Regions from separate parts of the Homo sapiens genome. Here regions 2 and 3 are each linked to region 1. Evidence: promoter capture Hi-C in 16 types of primary human blood cells and fetal thymus (Javierre and others, 2016). All regions are on one chromosome and are shown on one strand. The core of a region is centred on a gene start or on the middle of the fragment in contact, and the rest is flanking DNA. Distances in the headings are between cores, read along the strand shown. Region 1 holds the start of FAM181B (family with sequence similarity 181 member B). Region 2 overlaps CCDC90B (coiled-coil domain containing 90B). Region 3 overlaps CCDC90B-AS1 (CCDC90B antisense RNA 1).

The links. The method cuts DNA at HindIII sites, captures the fragments that hold promoters and counts their contacts. A CHiCAGO score of 5 or more calls a contact.
Region 2: a contact is called between a fragment that was not itself captured here and the fragment with the promoter of FAM181B in region 1, in 4 of 17 cell types (naive CD4 T cells, naive CD8 T cells, total CD4 T cells and 1 more). The highest score is 10.9, in naive CD4 T cells.
Region 3: a contact is called between a fragment that was not itself captured here and the fragment with the promoter of FAM181B in region 1, in 2 of 17 cell types (naive CD4 T cells and activated CD4 T cells). The highest score is 5.7, in naive CD4 T cells.

Annotation. Positions count from the first base shown.
Region 1 is chr11:82,732,587-82,737,197 of GRCh38, forward strand. FAM181B (family with sequence similarity 181 member B) reads right to left here and starts at 1,278. Exons shown (of 1, transcript NM_175885.4): 1 at 1-1,278. The coding sequence starts at 1,143. The HindIII fragment of the contact is 9,040 bases long and covers 1-4,207 here.
Region 2 is chr11:83,260,954-83,265,728 of GRCh38, forward strand. It overlaps CCDC90B (coiled-coil domain containing 90B), which reads right to left. Exons shown (of 9, transcript NM_021825.5): 9 at 1-1,013. The coding sequence ends at 958. It also overlaps a transcript of ANKRD42 not described here. Among named protein-coding and RNA genes, the nearest start is that of CCDC90B-AS1, 23 kb to the right of the region's middle. The HindIII fragment of the contact is 4,657 bases long and covers 1-4,622 here.
Region 3 is chr11:83,288,082-83,292,781 of GRCh38, forward strand. All of the region lies in intron 1 of CCDC90B-AS1 (CCDC90B antisense RNA 1), which reads left to right. Among named protein-coding and RNA genes, the nearest start is that of CCDC90B, 4.1 kb to the left of the region's middle. The HindIII fragment of the contact is 5,322 bases long and covers 1-4,062 here.

The sequences.
Region 1 (4,611 bases), core at 28-2,527:
GGCGCAGTCTGGAAAGAAGGGGGCGAAAGAGGCCAAATGGCCCCGCCCGTCCTCCCCGCCGGGAGAATCCGCAGCGGCGGGGTACAGGGGGCTCAAGGGCTCGTTCAAGGTCAAGCCGCCGCGGGGGGCAGTCAGGGGGCTCTTTTTGGTCGGGGAGCAGCCCGGGACGCTCCAGGGCTCGGGGTACAGTAGGTTTCCCACCACTGCCGGCGGCGGCTCAAAGAGGCCGGGCTCCAGCTCCGGGGGTCCCCGCAGTACGGAGGCTCCGGCGGGGAACACGTCGAGAGGCTCGGCGGCAAGCAAGACTGCCGCCTCCGTGCCGGCGCCGTAGTCGGGCCCCAGCAGCTCAAAGAACTCCACGGCCTCCGCGCCCTTCTCCAGGTCGCCCAAGCTCACGTCCGGCCCCGACGGGCCACACCCGCCGCCGCCTGCCCGGGACGGCTCCGTGAAGAAGGACGGAGGCAGATTGCGTGCCCGCAGCGGGACCTTCCTGGCCCCTGGGATCGCCGTGGCCCCCGCGGGGCCTGCCACGTCCCCTCCCGCGCCCCCAGTGCCCGCACCTCCTAGCCCGGCCGCCGGCGCAGCCACCTCACCCCCCGCCGGCTCGGCACCCCCGGGGACGTGGCGCAGCGAGTCGAAGAGCGCGGCCAGACTTCGGCTTTGCAAGCTGGCGGCCGCGGCGGCCTGCGACGCCTCCCGCCGGGGGGCAGCCTTGCCGTGGGCCGGGGCCGCGACTGTCGGGGCGCTAGGGGCGGCCAGCGGCCGTTTGGCTGGCGTGTCGGCGGCGCTCGGGGAGGGCGGGCCGGGGGGCGCGGCGCCCATGAGGCCGCTGCAGCGCTTGATCTGCTTCTGCAGGTACTTGCGGTGGTTCACCTTCCGCTTCGACTTGCCCGGCTTGTCCAGCGCCAGCTTGATGTTGCTGGACGCCGAGTCAATGAAGCTGAGTAGATCGCGGGTGGCCTCGCGCACGTCCCCTCCTTCGGCTCCCGACAGCAGCGCACCCGCCGGAGCCCCGGTCTCATCGTCCTCGAAACAGCAGCCCTTGTCCAGGGCTCCGAAGGCGCCCCCTAGCCCGTCCGGGGAGCCCCCGAAGCCGAAGGGCACGAAAGGGTGCGTGCTGAGGAGCGCCGCCTGCACCGCCATCGCCGCGGCTCCCGGGCTGTCCGCAGCGCTGCCCGTGCGCCCCCGCCAGCTCCTGCCCGCCGCCCAGACCCAGCTCCCGCCCCGGCGCGGCGCGCGCGGCGCAGCCTACTAGTTCCGGGCCTGGCTCGCTGCGCTGCCTCCCGGGGGAGCTCATTAGGTCTTGTAAGCAAGGGGCGGAGGGAGGGAGCGCGCGGCGACCGTCCCGGTGGTAGAGGGGAGGGGCTTACTTAGCCTGGCTTGGAGGAGTGGGGGGTCGCTTTAGTTTTCTGAGCTTTCTGAAGCTCAACGCCTTAACTCCTTCGTTTCCCTTTGCCCCGTGGTGTTTCTCTTGACTCCTCTAACCGCAAGGGGTGAGGAAGAGATGGCTGGTCTCAAACTCCAGTTCAGGCCCATGAGGCCGCTGCAGCGCTTGATAGGCTTCTGCAGGTACTTGCGGTGGTGCCTCTCCTGAGGCAAGAAGGCAGGAGTCTAGAGACGTGGGTTTCAGTCCAGCTGTATAACAACACCCACCAGCTTCTGGGCGCTTGCTTCTGCCAGGCGCTGTCCATCTATTATCTCATTTAATCCTTGAACAACAGCCCTGTGAATTACATGTTATCGCCATTCAACAAACGTGGACACTGCACCTCAGGGAGGTTCAGTGAGTTGGCCAAAGTCAGATCTAGCCCATTCTGACTCCAAAGCCATTCCTAAGCCCTTGACAATACTTGCGTCCTCTCTTGCCCTTGCCTTTCTCATCTATTAAGATGGGGAAGGAAAATGAGTATTTCTTAAAGCTCTAGACCTGATCCTAAGATTCTAACCTGAGTTTTCCCAGGATTCTCAAGCCCAGTGCTCTTTCTTCTTGACTGTTTGCCACTTGATTGTTACGAGTAACAATTGGCTAACAGTAAATTGAGGCCAGCAGTGGCCCATCTTTTATTAACACATAGCAGGAGGCAATGGAGAAAGGAGTCGATCTGGCTAAGCCCCCTGTTACTTGAGAACACTGTGTGTGTATAAAACTCTCAGCATGTTAGAATAAAAGATGGATTGGAACCTCTCCCCTACCTGTCATACCATTTAGGTTATCCCTGGAATTTTCATTGCATTTCAGGGATCATCATGAAGTTCACTTAAAACTAATTTCACCTGGGCAATCCTCTTTGGGATAGATAGAGAAAATGAGCAATAAGGTCATTTTCACAAGAGATTCAGAAGAGGCTTGGGTTCTGGTCTTAGCCACCACTCAATAACCTCATGACTTAGGTTGAAATCCTTGCTCTGCTGAGTGCATGGCTTTAGACAAACCAGCGTACTCTCTCTGTTTAGCTTACTCATGTTAAATGCAGGTAAAGTTGCCCTCCCCACAGGGCACTTGTGATATTTAAATGATACATTGTTCCATAGCCTGGATGAGTATTCACCCTTACTTCTCTGAAACACAAAAAGGTGACTATATCCCTTACGTGTCTTCTGGATCATAGGGTGTTCATGAGCATTAAGTGAGATCATAGATGCTTCTCAATTTGTGATAGAGCAACAACATCCTGATAAACACATTGTAAGTTGAAAATATTGTAGGTTAAAATGCATGTAATACACTGATTCAAGTTGGAAAATCATAAAGTTGAACCATCATAAGTTGGGGACTGTCTCTATATGAAAACACTGTGTGTGTGATAAAGTGTTCTCTAAATAAGTTACTCTAGTTTCGATACAGAGCTTGCATAGGAGAGACATAGACCATCTCTTTCAAAACTCTTTTTATTAAGCCTCACTTTGTAGATGTAGCGAAACCATTTTTGAACACCATGAAGGCACAGCCTTACCAAAGAAAAAAGGCCAGATGGGCCATCAGAGAAATACAAATCAAAACCGCAATGAGATACCATCTCACACCAGTTAGAATGACGATCATTAAAAAGTCAGGAAACAACAGGTGCTGGAGAGCATGTGGAGAAATAGGAACACTTTTATACTGTTGGTGGGACTGTAAACTAGTTCAACCATTGTGGAAGACAGTGTGGCGATTCCTCAAGGATCTAGAACTAGAAATACCATTTGAACCAGCCATCCCATTACTGGGTATATACCCAAAGTATTATAAATCTTGCTGCTATAAAGACACGTGCACACGTATGTTTATTGTGGCACATAGCAAAGACTATTATTCACATAGCAAAGACTTGGGACCAACCCAAATGTCTATCAGTGATACACTGGATTAAGAAAATGTGGCACATATACACCATAGAATACTATGCAGCCATAAAAAAGGATGACTTCATGTCTTTTGTAGGGACATGGATGAAGCTGGAAACCATCATTCTGAGCAAACTATCGCAAGGACAGAAAACCAAACACTGCACAGGTGGGAAATGAACAATGAGAACACTTGGACACAGGGTGGGGAACATCACACACCGGGGCCTGTCGTGGGGTGGGGGGATGGGGGAGGGATAGCGTCAGGAGATATACCTAATGTAAATGACAAGTTAATGGGTGCAGCACACCAACATGGCACATGTATACATACGTAACAAACCTGCACATTGTGCACATGTACCCTAGAACTTAAAGTATAATAAAAAAGAAAGAAAGAAAAAAGGCCAGATGAACATTTTTCATTTAGAAGATGAAGTAGCCACTTCCCAAACCCACATAGCTGAGCCAAACTTTTTATTTTAAATTCAAATTGGCTCAATTATCATGGACTTTTCATTTGAGTTACACACAGCATTTTGTCCTCCATGGCCGAACTGTCTGTTTTACTCTTGGTGGTATTCACATTCAGAAAATTGTGCAGACCTGTCACTGATTTGTGCTTCTTCCACTCCAGATGTGGATGTCAGCACTGCCCATCCCCTTTCCAACAGGGCCATTCCATAGGCTTCCAGGTCTGGCAGCCAAAAGCACTAACTTTTTTTTTTTTTCACCTTCTGTCAACTGAGCACTCTTACAAGTCCTTGGACACCAATTGCACAGTACTCTACATTTAATCGACATCTTATTCCGAAAAAACTCTTAATCCCCAGGGTTATCTAAATCCTAAAATCATATTCAAAATAAATGGAATATGAAAAGCTTCATATGTAAAAGTCTTTCTTCATTTCTATTGGAGTTCTGCACATCAAAGTTGATTTGAAGTTAGATGAGGCCAGGTTCAAATTCTGGCCCTGCCTATTGCTATTGAACTGCTTGGACAAGTCAGTTCATATTCCAAAGGCTCAAACTCCTTATCTGAAAAAAGGGAATGGTCATAATTGTTCTCAGGGTGAGAATTACATGACATAACAGGCAAGTAATGCCTCTGAATCTTACTTTTCTCACCTGCACAGTGGAGATAATCTCAACTCCTCAAGGTTGTTGTGAGATGGTATATATAAAAGCACCTCACACAAAATAGCAGTTCAACAAATGTCCATGTTCTTGATTCCTTAGGCCCCACCCATTCCTTACCAACACATTACCCTATGAAACCAGCAT
Region 2 (4,775 bases), core at 1,044-3,543, 530 kb after region 1:
ACTTAAACTACATTAAGAAGCAGGGATAAACTGGTTTTTGAGTATCAAATATTTAAAAAATACATGTAATAATCAGAGCTCAATATTTAGCAACTCTACAGATTTCATATTAAGTGTTGTAATTTGCACTAAAGCACACATTTATTTATTTAGGTAATGGAGTCTTGCTCTGTCACCCAGGCTGGAGTGCAGTGGTGCTATCTCGGCTCACTGCAAGATTCTCCTGCCTCAGCCTCCCGAGTAGCTGGAATTACAGGCATGTGCCACCATGCCTGGCTAATTTTTGTATTTTTAGCAGAGACGGGGTTTCACCATGTTGGCCAGGCTGGTCTAGAACTCCTGACCTCAAGTGATCCACCCGCCTCAGCCTCCCAAAGTGCTGAGATTACAGGTGTGAGCCACCGCGCCTGGCCTATCATTTTAAAATTTATTGTTTTAGTTCATTACCAAAAAGAAATCAATCTCCAACTATATGGTAAGTCACTTTGAAAACCCACACAACTTTGTTGTAATAATCTTTCATTTTATAGAAAAATGTAATTATGCAATGGTTATCAGGAAAGTTAATTCAGTAATAAATATGTAGGCTAGGGAATGGTTTACAAATATTCAACCAATACCCACAAAATCCTGTATGATTTACACAACTGTTCAAGCAAACATAAGAAAACTCTGGTTCAATTTCTATTAACTATCAAAAGGACAAAATGCTCTTCTATCTCAAACCAGGTCTGAGTGACAGCTTTTCAATATAATAAAGACACACACCTGCACTCACACACACACAATAAAGACACAGTATCTCTTCTCATTCTAAAACACTTCCTCTTTTAGTCCGTATACACTTCGAATAATCTTGTGTAGTAAATTTTTGCTGCAACTGACAATGTTCAAAGTAAATCTCTCCCGGTTTGGTGTTCTAAGAAGCCAACAGCCACAGCAGGATGAGCATTAATACTACTTCCAGAATCTATAAAATCCCAATGCTATTGCCAGGCAAGTAAACACCGAAGCTGTGAAAAGAAGAAACTGTGTTATAGGTCTTGTATCTGTAATTATTTTGCAGAGATAAAGAGAATAATGTTATCTTTAAGTGAAGAGCAAAAAACAGGAAATCCAACCAATTTTCTATCCTATGTTTTTTATTCCCTAGACAATTAAGTATGAAAGACATTCTTAAGGGCAGCCTTAATGCCTAATTCTTCTTAAAAGCACCTGTATATTAAAATGTAAATTATGTCATTTAGAAACCTATAACCTGTATTTAAAATCATTAACGCTAGCATTATTGACTACTTTAAATAATTATAAGCTCTAATTTCAGATCTCATGATAAATGAAATCTTTCTTATATTAAAAAATTACGTAGTTAGGCTAGTAAAATATACATATATCTGTGAGAAGAGAATTTTAATTGCCTTTTCAGTACATTTTTAAATAATTTCTCATAATTCTTAATAAAATTTTAATAAAAACTCTTTAAACTCAATGAGGTAGAAGAAAAGGCAGAAAAAGCATTAGGTTTTTAAAATAGTTAATATACTACCTGTACTTTAGCTTACATCATTTTGGATAAAAAAAAATTCAGTTTTCCCAGCTTTTAGAAGGTAAGTCTGAGTGAGGCCTTTAGGGACTCCCTAGTCTCCAGTTTGTTTAAAACACCGATGAATGAATTTTTAAAAACAGACAAGTGAGAGATGAATGGAAAACTTTTATGAATAAAGACACAAGAAATTAGCCTTTCAAAGTAAAGTTATTCATAATGTATAAACCCATTTGTACACCACCCCATTTGATCCTACTACTTACTGAAACTTGGTTAATGATAAGATCATTTTCTCAGTTTTAAGAAATGGGATTAGGCATCTCTAAGAAATATAGAGAAGTAATAACACTAAGAGTTTCTTGTCTTACAGCCACTGGGCAATTATATATTCTCCCATTTGATCCTGCTACTATTTGCTGTGTGTCAAGTACTATGCTACTATGCTGAGCAATTACACACACTACTTTATTTAACCATGAGATTGGTGGTATTATCCCCATTGTACAGATGAGGTAATACACCCAGTTACATCGCTAGCAAACAGTGGAGCCGGGATTTAAGACTAAGTGTACTTGACTCCAAAGCCATTTTTTTTCTCTTAATAAAAAAACACACACACAAAATTTGTGATCCTTATTATATACTGTGACACTTGAAAGACTCAATCTGTCATTTATTTGAGTCACATAGTGCTATCTAAGTGGTTACATCCTCTGCTGATTCAACAGCTGATAAATTAAGTTTTAGATAACCAAATGAACACTTATTGTGAGGTGAAGTATACTCTACTTCAGTAGAGTATACAATCGTTACTGCATTTAAGTTTCTCTCTCATGTCTTGCTGCTGTTATTTCAGCTTTTATTTCTCATGGCTGTTGTTGCAGTAACAACAACAATTGGAGCCATCTCCAATTTCTTTTAAGTTTGCTGTTTATCCTCTATACCCTGTCTAGGGAGACATTCTACATATATGTAAAATGCTTAGGTGAGCATATGCCTGGTACATTTTAAGCACTCTGTAAACATTAGCTTTCATTATTTATCTGCCACGAACAAAATCTGCCACATTATCTACATAGATTAAATGGAAATTGCCATTATTCCTTGGTGGCAGTGTTCTGGGTCAAAAGGTGGCGTCTGACCCACGATGAACCATTCAGACTCCTTTCTGAGGATTTTAAAAATTGGAACTAAGGAAAGAGGGCAATCTCTCCTGATTAGTGAAAGTGGAATGATAAGAGTCTAGGTGGTAATGTTTCCAACCTATGGAGAAAGCTGGTATGAGAAATTGAGGCACACAGTCACAGATTTAAAGAGTAAGTTCTGATTCCAATTATGCTTGTAGGTAGGCTATTTTACTTGTGCCCCATCCACGGTTCAGCTGATGGCTGGGGGCTCCATCTTCAACCCTGCTGGCACCTCAACATCAGTAGTGACTGCCCAGAAAATGACTAAGAGTATAAATCGGCAGTTTTCTTTTAGACAGCAATTTGTTAATATCAAAAATCTTAAATGTGCATATCTTTTTGACCCCAAATTTTAAATGTACATAGCAAGTTGTTATATAGAAATACTAGCACAGGGCCACCAAGATATGTGTGTGTGTATGTGTATTTACTCAAACGTTAACACATATATATGGCTGTTCAATACAGTATTGTCCTTAATAATAAAAAACTGAAGGGAGAATGCCTGTTAATAAAGGACTGGATACATAAATTGTGGCATTTTCATATAGGGAATACTGTGCTTTCTAATAAAAAGATGTCTGTGTGGAAAGAAATAGGACATTTGGTTAAACTTTAAAAAGTTGTAGACTATAAAAAATACGTGATCTAATTATTTTTAAGAAGTATATAAGATGTTTATATACAGAAGAAAAAGCCTAGAAAATGTTTACTACTAATAGTAAATACACACGGGGAGGGGCTTTCACTTTTTCGGCTTTTGAATTCTATGAATAATTTATAATGAAATTCTGGGTTGAAAATTCTTTTCTTTAAGAATGTTGAATATTGGCCCCCACTCTCTTCTGGCTTTGTAGAGTTTCTGCTGAGAGATCTGCTGTTAGTCTGACGGGCTTCCCTTTGAGGGTAACCCGACCTTTTTCTCTGGCTGCCCTTAACATTTTTTCCTTCATTTCAACTTTGGTGAATCTGACAATTATGGAGTTGCTCTTCTCGAGGAGTATCTTTGTTGGAACCAACCCAAATGGCCAACAATGATAGACTGGATTAAGAAAATGTGGCACATATACACCATGGAATACTATGCAGCCATAAAAAATGATGAGTTCATGTCCTTTGTAGGGACATGGATGAAATTGGAAATCATCATTCTCAGTAAACTATCACAAGAACAAAAAACCAAACACTGCATATTCTCACTCATAGGTGGGAACTGAACAATGAGAACACATGGACACAGGAAGGGGAACATCACGCTCTGGGGACTGTTGTGGGGTGGGGGGAGGGGGGAGGGATAGCATTGGGAGATATACCTAATGCTAAATGACGAGTTACTGGGTGCAGCGCACCAGCATGGCACATGTATACATATGTAACTAACCTGCACATTGTGCACATGACCCTAAAACTTATAAAAAAAATTTATAATGAAAATACATTACTTTTTATAAAAGGAAAGAAAAAAGACAAGTAATAGTTGACTAGGGCATTCTTCCTAAATCACTGGGGCCCTGTAATTGGGTCAGGTCAGATGGTACTTGAGGAGCTCAGTATGTGACAAATAATCTAATTTTGGGATAGTGTCTATGCTGAATCAGTTGATTCAAGGTAAGGTCATCTGTCCCTCCTCCAGGTTTTTAATGGGCTTATATCTAATTTATTGATCTTTTTTCTCTAACCTCTTTCAAATCTTTATGGAAGAACATAAGCAATAAAAAGAAAATTTTCATTTTTTTTTCCACTGTGGAGTACCACAGTTTATCCTTCTATCATTTTCTGCTTGTGTTTATATATTTCTTTTATATCCACATGCTTTTTCTATTAGTCAGCTGCAGAGTTGCCTGCTAAACTTAGATTCTGAAGGGTAACACATCTGTGAGGATGACAGAAGCTTAACATTTAGAACTGTCCAATACTACACCCTATATGTTCCTTCCTTTGGCTGCGTCTAATTTGTAATCTGCTATAATAAAAATTATAAGTATTAAAAATAAAACCCAAGACTCCAAAAAATATATCCTGAGACTGGAACCTTCTTTAAG
Region 3 (4,700 bases), core at 152-2,651, 560 kb after region 1:
TACCCAGTAGTGGGATTGCTGGGTTGAATGGTAGTTGTATTTTAAGTTCTTTGAGAAATCTCCAAACTGCTTTCCATAGTGGCTGAACTAGTTTGCATTCCCATCAACAGAGTATAAGCATTCCCTTTTCTTCACAGCCTAACCAATATGTGAATTTTTTTTCTTAATAATTGCCATTCTGATGGGTGTGAGATGGCATCTCATTGTAGTTTTGATTTGCATTTCTCTAATGATCAGTGGTGTTGAGGATTTTTTCATGTTTGTTGGCTATTTGTATGTCTTCTTTTGAGAAGTGTGTGTTCATGTCCTTTGCTCATTTTTTAATTGGATTGTTTTATACTTCTTGGTTTGTTTAAATTCCTTATAGATTCTGGATGTTAGACCTTTGTCAGATGCATAGTTTGCAAATATTTTCTCCTTCCCATTCTTAGGCTATCTGTTTACTCTGTTGGTAATTTCTTTTGCTGTGCAGAAGCTCTTTAATTAGGTCCCACTTGTCAGTTTTTATTTTTGTTGTAATTGCTGTTGGGGACTTAGCTATAAATTCTTTTCCAAAGCCTGTGTCAAGAAGGGTATTTCCTAGTTTTTTTTCTAGAGTTTTTATAGTTTGAGGGCTTACTTTTAAATCTTTAATCCAGCTTGTGGTAATTTTTGTATATGGTGAGAGGTAGGGGGGTCCAGTTTCATTCTTCTGCATATGGCTAGCCAGTTATCCCACCACCATTTACTGAATAGGGAATGCTATCCGTGTTGCTTATTTTTGTTGATTTTGTTGAAGACCAGATGGTTTTAGGTGTGTGGCTTTATTTCTGGGTTCTCTATTCTGTTCTACTGGTCTATGTGTCTGTTTTTGTAACACTACCATGCTGTTTTGATTAGTTTAGCCTTATAGTATTGTTTGAAGTCTTGCTTTGTTCTTTTTGCTTAAGATTGCTTTGACTATTCAGGCTCTTTTTTGGTTCCAAATTAATTTTAGAAGAGGTTTTTCTAGTTCTGTGAAAAATGATGTTGGTATTTTGATAAGGATAGCGTTAAATCTGTAATTTGTTTTGGATAGTATGGCCATTTTAACTGTATTGATTCTTCCAACCCATGAGCATGGAATATTTCTCCATTTATTTGTGTTGTCTCTGCTTTCTTTCAGTAGTGTTTTGTAGTTCTCCTTGCAGAGATCTTTCACCTCCCTGGTGAGATGATCCTGAGTATTCCATTTTCTTTGTGCCTATTGTAAATGGGATTGTGTTCTTGATTTGATTCTCAGCTAGAACATTATTGGTGTATAAAAATGCTACTGATTTTTTGTGCATTGATTGTGTATCCTGAAACTTTACTGAATTTGTTTATCAGTTCCAGGGGCCTTTGGGAGAGTCTTTAGGGTTTTCTAGGTGTAGAATCATATCGTTGGCAAAGAGAGATAGTTTACCTTCCTCTCTTCCTATTTGAATATCTTTATTTATTTCTCTTGCCTGATTGCCCTGGCTGGGACTTCCAGTACTATGTTGAATAAGGGTGGTGAGAATGGGCATCCTTTTCTTGTTCCAGTTCTCAAGGGGAATGTGTTTCCAGTTTTGGCCTTTAGCAATTTAGTAATATATTTATGAAACTCCAAAAAGTAAATAGCCAGAGTTTCACTTCTTCTTTTTTTTTTTTTTTTTTGAGACAGAGTCTTGCTCTATCACCCAGGCTGGAGTGCAACGGTGTGATCTTGGCTCACTGCAACCTCAGCCTCCCGGGTTCAAGCAATTCTCCTGCCTCAGCCTCCCAAGTAGCTGGGATTACAGGCATGCGCTGCCACACCCAGCTAATTTTTGTATTTTTAGTAGAGGTGGGGTTTCGCCATGCTGGTCAGGCTGGTCTTGAACTCCTGACCTCAGGTGATCCACCCATCTCGGTCTCTCAGAGTGCTGGGATTACAGGCAACTGTGAGCCACCGCACCTGGCCTAGAGTTTCACTTCTAAGAAGCTATCCATAGTAAATAATCACATCTGTAGCTAAGATTTTTGAAAAGGATGACTATTGCAATGTTATTTATAGTAGTGAAAAATTGAAAATAGTCTAAGTATTCAAAAGTGATTAAATAACTTGCAGAAGTGTCCCAATTTGGAATATTATGCAAGAATTTAGTATTTTTAAAAATAATCTTAGTGACAGGAAAATCCTTAATACATGTATATACATAATTATAATTCTGTATAATTCTTATATACAGGATTATAATTATAATTATATACATGATTATAATTCTGTTAAATGATAGGATCCCTGCTTGGGAGGAGCTAACAGGCTAGTGGAAGATACAGACCAGTAAGTGTTATCACAATATTTTACTTAACTTAAGGAATTATTATGAAAAAAGTGGATCTCTTTATATATTAATTCATGTTACTATTATTTATATTAACATAAAGCTCTCTCTGTAACACACATATACAGTGTTGATTATGTTCTCTTTGATGGAAGTGGCAATTAGATCCAGGGATTCTTAATCATTCTCTGAGGCTGGCTGGAACTATATCAAGTGAGTGCAGGAGCTTGGGTCATCCATAATCTACCATGCAGGCCAGAGAAGCATAGGAAGGAAAAGCAGGAATAGCAGATGAAGTGAGTCCAGATAGTATTCAGCTAATAGATACAGCTCCTCTCTGAGACCTCCTAATGCTCCTGTGTATTTTCAGATTCTCCTTGGTTGCTATTGTTTCTTTGTTAAACATCTTAATTTATAAAAATATTTTTCCATAAATTTGTTAATGTTTTCTCATGTTTGTTGAGAGGAATAGAAAAGATGATGCATCTAAAATACTTAGCACTGGACCTGGCATATACAAGCACCCAATAAACAATAATAATACCTGCTTACTCAGAGTTAGGAAATAATTTCCATGGGTGTCTCATGTTTCTGTATGTTTTACAAATGGAGGTCTTCTCTGCCTTTTGTTGTGGCAGTTTTGTATAACGAACAACCTTAGGAAATATAGCATCTCTCTCTGGAGCAAAAGGCCTCATGCTTACTGCCTATTATAAAAGATTTGTGTTCTCATAGGTCAGGGTTCCTCTCTGTAATGCAATGTACTGTACGTGCTCAGGCATCTACGTAGCCCCAGCTGCATCATCCCCATGAACTTGGGGCCAAGGGGAGCTGACACAAATATGCCGATACTCGTGCTGCTCGCTGCACCATCAGTAATTGGGTTCTTTGTTTCTAGCAAGGAGTCTCATATCTTCTACCAGCATCCATGCAACCATGACAGGATAACTTGATAGCCTGCTAATAGGGTAAGATCTCGGACCCTTCACAATATTATTCTTCTCTGGACTTTTAAACATTTTTCATTTTTCCAGTTTTACTTACAGAAATATCTGAGTGCCAGCTAGGTTTAAGGTTAGATGTGAGGAATGTAAAGAAAACCAGTTCAATCCAACAACTATTCAAGTTCTTACTACGTGCAGGGATTTCTGCTAGGATACGCAAGGATTGCAAAGATTTCTGCTCTCCAGTAATTTGTAATATATTAATAACTGAGAGAATAGAACAAGCATTTTAATAGCCTTCAACACAGAGCTTTAATAGGTTAGTGTCATGTAAATGTTAAGAAAATAATAAATCCTATAATTCAGTTGAAGGTTAAATGCTTTTTGATAATGGTTATCAAGAAGAGATAGGATTTGAACCTTAGGGGTTTTAGTTAGTAGAGGTTGTAAGGCAAGGGGTCCAGGAGAGAGGATTGGAGTGAGCAAGTACAATTTACTCATCGCTTTGCTCCTTCCTACTCAGGGACTTTGCATATGGTAAAGCATCACTACTCAACTTGGAGCTCTTTCTCCTCTTTATCTGGCCAATTCCTTTATATCTTTCAGATTCCAGTTTAAATGGTGACTTTTTAGAGTAACTCTTTAAGAAGTCATTCCCACTCAAACAACATGCAGATTTGGTACTTTTGTTATGGACTCATACAGCAACCCAGCCTTCCCATGTCTCTGCACTTAATATTTGTTTTCTCCATTATGGTAGAGACCATATGTGTCATGGTGTCTCCAGTGCTTATCATGCCTGGGCCATAACAAGCTTTTGGTAAGTGTGTGTTGAATGAATGAGTGAATGTTCAAAATATGGTCATAGTTTGGTGAGGAAACTTCGTAGACTGGGGCATAGGAATTATATGAAGACTGGGTGGAATTGGGGTGAACAAAATGAAAAAGGTAGAATAAAAAAGACTAAGGAAATTGAATTTCATACAGTGGACTTGCAGGAGATTTTGAAATTTTTTGAGCTAAAATAGATAAAAATCAGTTTGAATTTCTTTCTAGAAAATAACTATTTGCCATTTGCTAGTGTAGGCAAATGAATCCTTTCCTCTTCCAATGTCTGATGAGATGGCCTGGACATGAGAAATGCTCCCCTGCTGAAAGCAGCCTAGTTTATCTAAATCTCAAAGGCCAACAGGGTAGCAGGGAAGTGGGTCCTGGTTTTTTTCATTGCAAATAACCACTTTTTTTTTTTTACCTTTATAAGCTCCCATTTAAAACACAGCTTACACTCTTTACCAACAACATGTATGAAGCCACTACTTATTTTCCTATTTTCCATTAATTCAAGATAAGTTACTGTTGGTGAGTGGGAGATAAGCAGTGCTGATTTAACAGTAAGCTGATAAATTTACAGGGGAAGGCGAAGATACTTGCCAATTTCTTCAGTGGTTTC